Regions from separate parts of the Homo sapiens genome. Here region 1 is linked to region 2. Evidence: promoter capture Hi-C in human tissues and cell types (Jung and others, 2019). All regions are on one chromosome and are shown on one strand. The core of a region is centred on a gene start or on the middle of the fragment in contact, and the rest is flanking DNA. Distances in the headings are between cores, read along the strand shown. Region 1 overlaps EPS15 (epidermal growth factor receptor pathway substrate 15). Region 2 holds the start of EPS15 (epidermal growth factor receptor pathway substrate 15).

What was found. The method cuts DNA at HindIII sites, captures the fragments that hold promoters and counts their contacts. A contact is called where the count stands out against the background at its distance.
Region 1: a fragment that was not itself captured here is called in contact with the fragment with the promoter of EPS15 in region 2 in 1 of the 25 tissues and cell types used here (spleen).

What each region holds. Positions count from the first base shown.
Region 1 is chr1:51,387,607-51,391,431 of GRCh38, reverse strand. The region is part of intron 21 of EPS15 (epidermal growth factor receptor pathway substrate 15); the gene reads left to right. Among named protein-coding and RNA genes, the nearest start is that of TTC39A, 59 kb to the right of the region's middle. The HindIII fragment of the contact is 4,626 bases long and covers 1-3,825 here.
Region 2 is chr1:51,517,932-51,521,476 of GRCh38, reverse strand. EPS15 (epidermal growth factor receptor pathway substrate 15) reads left to right here and starts at 2,211. Exons shown (of 25, transcript NM_001981.3): 1 at 2,211-2,278. The coding sequence starts at 2,246. It overlaps EPS15-AS1 (EPS15 antisense RNA 1), which reads right to left and starts at 3,205. Exons shown (of 5, transcript NR_183651.1): 1 at 3,031-3,205. It also overlaps a transcript of OSBPL9 not described here. RefSeq lists silencers at 1,988-2,177, 2,328-2,797 and an enhancer at 2,028-2,956. The HindIII fragment of the contact is 17,142 bases long and covers 1-3,545 here.

The DNA of each region.
Region 1 (3,825 bases), core at 1,057-3,556, 130 kb after region 2:
ATGTGCAGGTTAGTTACATATGTATACATGTGCCATGCTGGTGTGCTGCACCCATTAACTCGTCATTTAGCATTAGGTATATCTCCTAATGCTATCCCTCCCCCTTCCCCCCAACCCACGAAAGGCCATGGTGTGTGATGTTCCCCTTCCTGTGTCCATGTGTTCTCATTGTTCAATTCCCACCTATGAGTGAGAACATGCGGTGTTTGGTTTTTTGTCCTTGTGATAGTTTACTGAGAATGATGATTTCCAGTTTCATCCATGTCCCTACAAAGGACATGAACTCATCATTTTTTATGGCTCCATAGTATTCCATGGTGTATATGTGCCACATTTTCTTAATCCAGTCTATCATTGATGGACATTTGGGTTGGTTCCAAGTCTTTGCTATTGTGAATAGTGCTGCAATAAATATACGTGTGCATGTGTCTTTATAGCAGCATGATTTATAGTCCTTTGGGTATATACCCAGTAATGGGATGGCTGGGTCAAATGGTATTTCTAGTTCTAGATCCCTGAGGAATTGCCACACTGAATTCCACATGGTTGAACTAGTTGACAGTCCCACCAACAGTGTAAAAATGTTCCTGTTTCTCCATATCCTCTCCAGCACCTGTTGTTTCCTGACTTTTTAATGATTGCCATTCTAACTGGTGTGAGATGGTATCTCATTGTGGTTTTGATTTGCATTTCTCTGATGGCCAGTGATGATGAGCATTTTTTCACGTGTCTGTTGGCTGCATAAATGTCTTCTTTGGAGAAGTGTCTGTTCATATCCTTCATCCACTTTTTGATGGGGTTGTTTTTTTTTTCTTGTAAATTTGTTTGAGTTCATTGTAGATTCTGGATATTAGCCCTTTGTCAGATGAGTAGGTTGCAAAAATTTTCTCCCATTTTGTAGGTTGCCTGTTCACTCTGATGGTAGTTTCTTTTGCTGTGCAGAAGCTCTTTAGTTTAATGAGATCCCATTTGTCAATTTTGGCTTCTGTTGTCATTGCTTTTGGTGTTTTAGACATGAAGTCCTTGCCCATGCCTATGTCCTGAATGGTGATGCCTAGGTTTTCTTCTAGGGTTTTTATGGTTTTAGGTCTAACGTTTAAGTCTTTAATCCATCTTGAATTAATTTTTGTATAAGGTGTAAGGAAGGGATCCAGTTTCAGCTTTCTACATATGGCTAGCCAGTTTTCCCAGCACCATTTATTAAATAGGGAATCCTTTCCTCATTGCTTGTTTTTCTCAGGTTTGTCAAAGATCAGATAGTTGTAGATATGCGGCGTTATTTCTAAGGGCTCTGTTCTGTTCCATTGATCTATATCTCTGTTTTGGTACCAGTACCATGCTGTTTTGGTTACTGTAGCCTTGTAGTATAGTTTGAAGTCAGGTATTTGATGCTGCCAGCTTTGTTCTTTTGGCTTAGGATTGACTTGGCGATGCAGGCTCTTTTTTGGTTCCATATGAATTTTAAAGTAGTTTTTTCCAATTCTGTGAAGAAAGTCATTGGTAGCTTGATGGGGATGGCATTGAATCTATAAATTACCTTGGGCAGTATGGCCATTTTCACGATATTGATTCTTCCTACCCATGAACATGGAATGTTCTTCCATTTGTTTGTATCCTCTTTTATTTCATTGAGCAGTGGTTTGTAGTTCTCCTTGAAGAGGTCCCTCATGTCCCTTGTAAGTTGGATTCCTAGGTATTTTATTCTCTTTGAAGCAATTGTGAATGAGAGTTCACTCATGATTTGGCTCTCTGTCTGTTATTGGTGTATAAGAATGCTTGTGATTTTTATACATTGATTTTGTATCCTGAGACTTTGCTGAAGTTGCTTATCAGCTTAAGGAGATTTTGGGCTGAGACAGTGGGGTTTTCTAGATATATAATCATGTCATCTGCAAACAGGGACAATTTGATTTCCTCTTTTCCTAATTGAATACCCTTTATTTCCTTCTCCTGCCTAATGGCCCTGGCCAGAACTTCCAACACTGTGTTGAATAGGAGTGGTGAGAGAGGGCATCCCTGTCTTGTGCCAGTTTTCAAGGGGAATGCTTGCAGTTTTTGCCCATTCAGTATGATATTGGCTGTGGGTTTGTCATAGATAGCTCTTATTATTTTGAGATACGTCCCATCAATACCTAATTTATTGAGAATTTTTAGCATGAAGGGTTGTTGAATTTTGTCAAAGGCCTTTTCTGCATCTATTGAGATAATCATGTGGTTTTTGTCTTTGGTTCTGTTTATATGCTGGATTACATTTATTGATTGGCATATATTGAACCAGCCTTGCATCCCAGGGATGAAGCCCACTTGATCATGGTGGATAAGCTTTTTGATGTGCTGCTGGATTCGGTTTGCCAGTATTTGATTGAGGATTTTTGCATCAATGTTCATCAAGGATATTGGTCTAAAATTCTCTTTTTTGGTTGCATCTCTGCCTGGCTTTGGTATCAGGATGATGCTGGCCTCATAAAATGAGTTAGGGAGGATTCCCTCTTTTTCTGTTGATTGGAATAGTTTCAGAAGGAATGGTACCAGTTCCTCCTTGTACCTCTGGTAGAATTCGGCTGTGAATCCATCTGGTCCTGGACTCTTTTTGGTTGGTAAGCTATTGATTATTGCCACAATTTCAGAGTCTGTTATTGGTCTATTCAGAGAGTCAACTTCTTCCTGGTTTAGTCTTGGGAGGGTGTATGTGTCGAGGAATTTATCCATTTCTTCTAGATTTTCTAGTTTATTTGCATAGAGGTGTTTGTAGTATTCTCTGATGGTAGTTTGTATTTCTGTGGGATCGGTGGTGATATCCCCTTTATCAGTTTTTATTGCGTCTATTTGATTCTTCTCTCTTTTTTTCTTTATTAGTCTTGCTAGCGGTCTATCAATTTCGTTGATCCTTTCAAAAAACCAGCTCCTGGATTCATTAATATTTTGAAGGGCTTTTTTGTCTGTTTCCTTCAGTTCTGCTCTGATTTTAGTTATTTCTTGCCTTCTGCTAGCTTTTGAATGTGTTTGCTCTTGCTTTTCTAATTCTTTTAATTGTGATGTTAGGGTGTCAATTTTGGATCTTTCCTGCTTTGTCTTGTGGGCATTTAGTGCTATAAATTTCCCTCTACACACTGCTTTGAATGTGTCCCAGAGATTCTGGTATGTTGTGTCTTTGTGCTCGTTGGTTTCAAAGAAGATCTTTATTTCTGCCTTCATTTCGTTATGTACCCAGTAGTCATTCAGGAGCAGGTTGTTCAGTTTCCATGTAGTTGAGTGGTTTTGAGTGAGTTTCTTAATCCTGAGTTCTAGTTTGATTGCACTGTGGTCTGAGAGACAGTTTGTTATAATTTCTGTTCTTTTACATTTGCTGAGGAGAGCTTTACTTCCAACTACATGGTCAATTTTGGAATAGGTGTGGTGTGGTGCTGAAAATAATGTATATTCTGTTGATTTGTGGTGGAGAGTTCTGTAGATGTCTATTAGGTCTGCTTGGTGCAGAGCTGAGTTCAATTCCTGGATATCCTTTTTAACTTTCTGTCTCATTGATCTGTCTAATGTTAACAGTGGGGTGTTAAAGTCTCCCATTATTATTGTGTGGGAGTCTAAGTCTCTTTGTAGGTCTCTAAGGACTTGCTTTATGAATCTGGGTGCTCCTGTATTGGGTGCATATATACTTAGGATAGTTAGCTCTTCTTGTTGAATTGATCCCTTTACCATTATGTAATGGCCTTCTTTGTCTCTTTTGATCTTTGTTGGTTTAAAGTCTGTTTTATCAGAGACTAAGATTGCAACCCCTGCCTTTTTTTGTTTTCCATTTGCTTGGTAGATCTTCCTCCATCCTTCTAT
Region 2 (3,545 bases), core at 962-3,461:
ACACTCTGATTCTTAATATTCTCTTTGCTACTCTGCACTGCCTTTCCGGAAACTACATGGCAGGGTTTCCACCTTATTCATCTGAGAGGAATATCTTACATCTCATATGGTTTGGAGGAGTCCCCTTGAATAGCAAGTGAAATTATACTCCCCAAAGCGATTTGCTCCATGATTTTCAGATTTCATAATTTGTGTAGCTACAAGTTTAGGCACTTTTGTATATGTCATCTCATTCATCCTCACAACAACCCTAAGGGCATACAACTAGTGAATGGGAGAGCCAGGAATGGAACCTGGATATTCCTAATGTCTGAGTCCTATTTATTTCACTATACTATGCTGCTTTGTCTATCAGTTGTATAACCCTGGGCAAATCACTTAGCCTCTGTGACCCTGCATTACCTCATTTGTAAAGTGAGTATGACGATTACTTCCTTTTAGAGTTGTGAAGCTCAAATGTGCTAATATAAAGTAGAAAACACCGGTAGAAACACCGGTTGTGGTTATGGCTGATAAGTGTACCAAAGTGAAGTAATGTAAAACAGTATCTCTTATTCTCTCTTCAGTTAAAGAGATTAGCAGCAAAAAAGAAGCCAAGGAAGATGCTCTTGAATAAGTGGTTACTCACCAGACCTATATGGCTTGCTCTTGTTAGCTGGCCTTTGCCAGAAGGAGTCTGAGTAGAATTAGGAGTTCCTTGGGAAATTTCTGGAATGGTTTGCTTGTGGAGGCAATAGTCTAAAAACTTAGGTGGGGCTAACTCCATCCTGGGTCTTGTTCAGTTGTCCCTCCTACCACGGGGACTGCTATGATAATGGTAATGGGTGTAGGCCTGATAGAGTTGTGGTTTGTTGTAATGGGAAGCCATCGTGACTAAGAAATTAAGACCAATTCGGGCAAATACATTTATTGAGGCCTCTGTGGTAGGCTAAACTATGAGGGAGATAAAGCAGTGAGTCAGCCCCTTGTCCTCAAGGATTTTACAGTGCAGTGAGGTGGAGACAAACCCTCAACTAACGCTTACAGATAAGGCAGAGTATAAAAACGGTCACATCAGAACAACTTAGAGGTGGGGTGTGGAGTTCCTAGAAGGCTTCTTGAAGTAGGTGGTATATACTCTGAGACTTTGAAGATGAATTTCAAGTAACTGGGTATTCCAACTGAAGGTTGGCAGCATCAGAAGGTGTAGGATGTGTTATGTTTAATATAGGCAGGAACGAAGGCCTTTACTGAGCATGCACTGTAATGCTAGGGTCTGACGATATAGAAATATATTGAAAACAGTTCTTGCCATTGAGGAGCTCTTAATCTAGAGGGATAGATAGGTGTAAACTGTCATTAGGGTGATGACTTCACAAGGTAGAGAAGAAAGGTTATAAAGGAGAGTGTGTAACTCTGACATAAGGAAGAGAAAAAGATACTTTGCAAAGGAGGTGAAACTTGAATTATGTCCTGAGAAAGAAGGAGGAGTTTGCTAAGTGGATGATGGGAGAAGCTAGGAGTGCTACAGGCACCAGCGTTCCCTTGTTAAACAATCTAAATGTGACAGGCACCAGGCAAATACATTTTTGCTTCCCCTTTCCAAATGGATTTTGGCTGTGGGAGGGAATGACTTAATGTCTTCTTTTCCAATATACTAGCAGATGGTTAAATATTTACAGTTAGACTTGGATTCTAATTCAGCTATATAATTAGCTGTATGACCTTAGTAAGACACTTATTTGTGTTTCAGTTCCTTCATTCATACAATTCAAAAAATAAGAGTCTAGTACAGAGCCTGGCATATATAAAGTGCCATTATTATTTTCTATCATTATCTCATTTAGTCTTTGTAAGTAACTGGGCCTCTAGTTACAATTTCCCCCATTTTTCAGAAGCAGGAGCTCAGCGTAGGTAGGTGGCCTGTCTGAAGTTCACAGGTCAATCTGCAGTCGCCTCCGCAGCCCGTCCGCTTTAATTTTATGTCCGCGCCGGGTTTTCCAAGGCGGCCCCGGGGGCAGGCTCTGGTCCGGTGGCCGAGACTCCGGCGCCAGGGTTTGGGCGGCGCCGCGGCCGGCTCCGGCGGGCGGGCAGGCGGGCGGGGCCAGGCGGGGCGGGGCGGGCGTGGGGAGGGAAGTTGTGGAAGTTAGGGGAGACGCCCGCCCGCCCGCCCCGGCCTCGCCTGCGGCCGCTCCCTCCGCCTCCTCCCCGCCCCGAGCCCCAGTCAGCCCGTCTTCCTTCCCCTCCCTTGCATGATGGAAACACCATGGCTGCGGCGGCCCAGCTCTCTCTGACACAGGTAACGCCACACGCCCGTCCGCCGGGCTTGGCCGGCCGGTGCCCCCTCCCCCACCGCCCTCAGCTTCGCCGACTTCTTGGCTTGTGGGCCAAGCAGGCAGCTTCTTGGCTTGTGGGCCGGGCGGCCGGTGTGTGTGAGGGAAAGCGGGTGCGACTGCGGGAGGGCGCCCTCCGGAGCCGGAGCCCCCCTGCGGCCGCCGCGACCTCGCCCAGGGTCGTCGGGCGCCTCCTGCCCCGCCCCGCGCGGCCCTCGCCGCCCTCCGCGCCGCTGCCGAGTGGACTGTGACCCGGCCGCGCTCTGCCGGTGCCGGGCCGGCTCCCGCGGGGCAGCTTTCACCTACCCAGGAAGTTTCCTCCCACAGGGCCGCACGCATCCCAGGTGAGCTCCTGTTGAGCTCGCGCGGGCCGGCCGCACCCCCGGGCCGCACGAGGCTCGCCCGCCAGGCCGGCTGCGCGCCGCCCCCAGTAGGAGTTGCCTTCCAGAGCCGGACGCGCAGGCCCCCCAAGCCAGTCTTTCCTCTCCAGACCTGCCTTTCTCCCAGGGTCCGACGGAAGCCCTCCCTTCCCAGAGTTTAATGTAGTTAGCCTCGCCTCCAAAGAAGTCTCATCCTACTCAACTACCCACTCTGCCGGCCCCTTCCTCCGTTCAGCCTCTCCCCCCTCCTGATCAGGTTTCCTTCTGGGTCAGACCCCCAATGCAGCCTTTTGCCACCCACGTCTGCTTCCACTTCAACTTCCCCTCGGGGGGCTCACGCCTGATCGCTGTCCAGGTGGATCCCTTTAACGGGTGTGGTGGCTCCGCCAGTCTTGGTGCCAGGAACGGCCTCCCGGGGAGCACTTTTCTTGGGGGGAATCCTCAGCAAAACCTGTTCTCGAGCTTCCCTCTTGCCTCGTTGCTTCCTGTCAAAGTCCAGTCCTTGTGCTTCTCAGAAAACCTCTAAACATCACTCACACTGGGAACCTGGTCCCTCCCTCTCTGTAAAGAAGCCAATTACAATGTAAACATGGTGTCCGGGATGATAAGGTGACAGACACCTGCCAGTTCCTTCCTGCTCCTGTGACCCAAACTCTCCCCCGCGTCTCCTCAGACGGTTCTCTCCAGAGCTGGTGGCGCGTGCTTCCCGATTGGGGCCCATCCCGTCTTCCTTGCCTGCATTGTGGTATCTCACTGCCATCTTGTACTCCTTGGCCTAGATTCGTCGGTGCTTCTAAGGCTTTAGCGCTGGGATAGGGCAAACATTTCGGCAGTGGAGTTTTCTGTGTTTAAA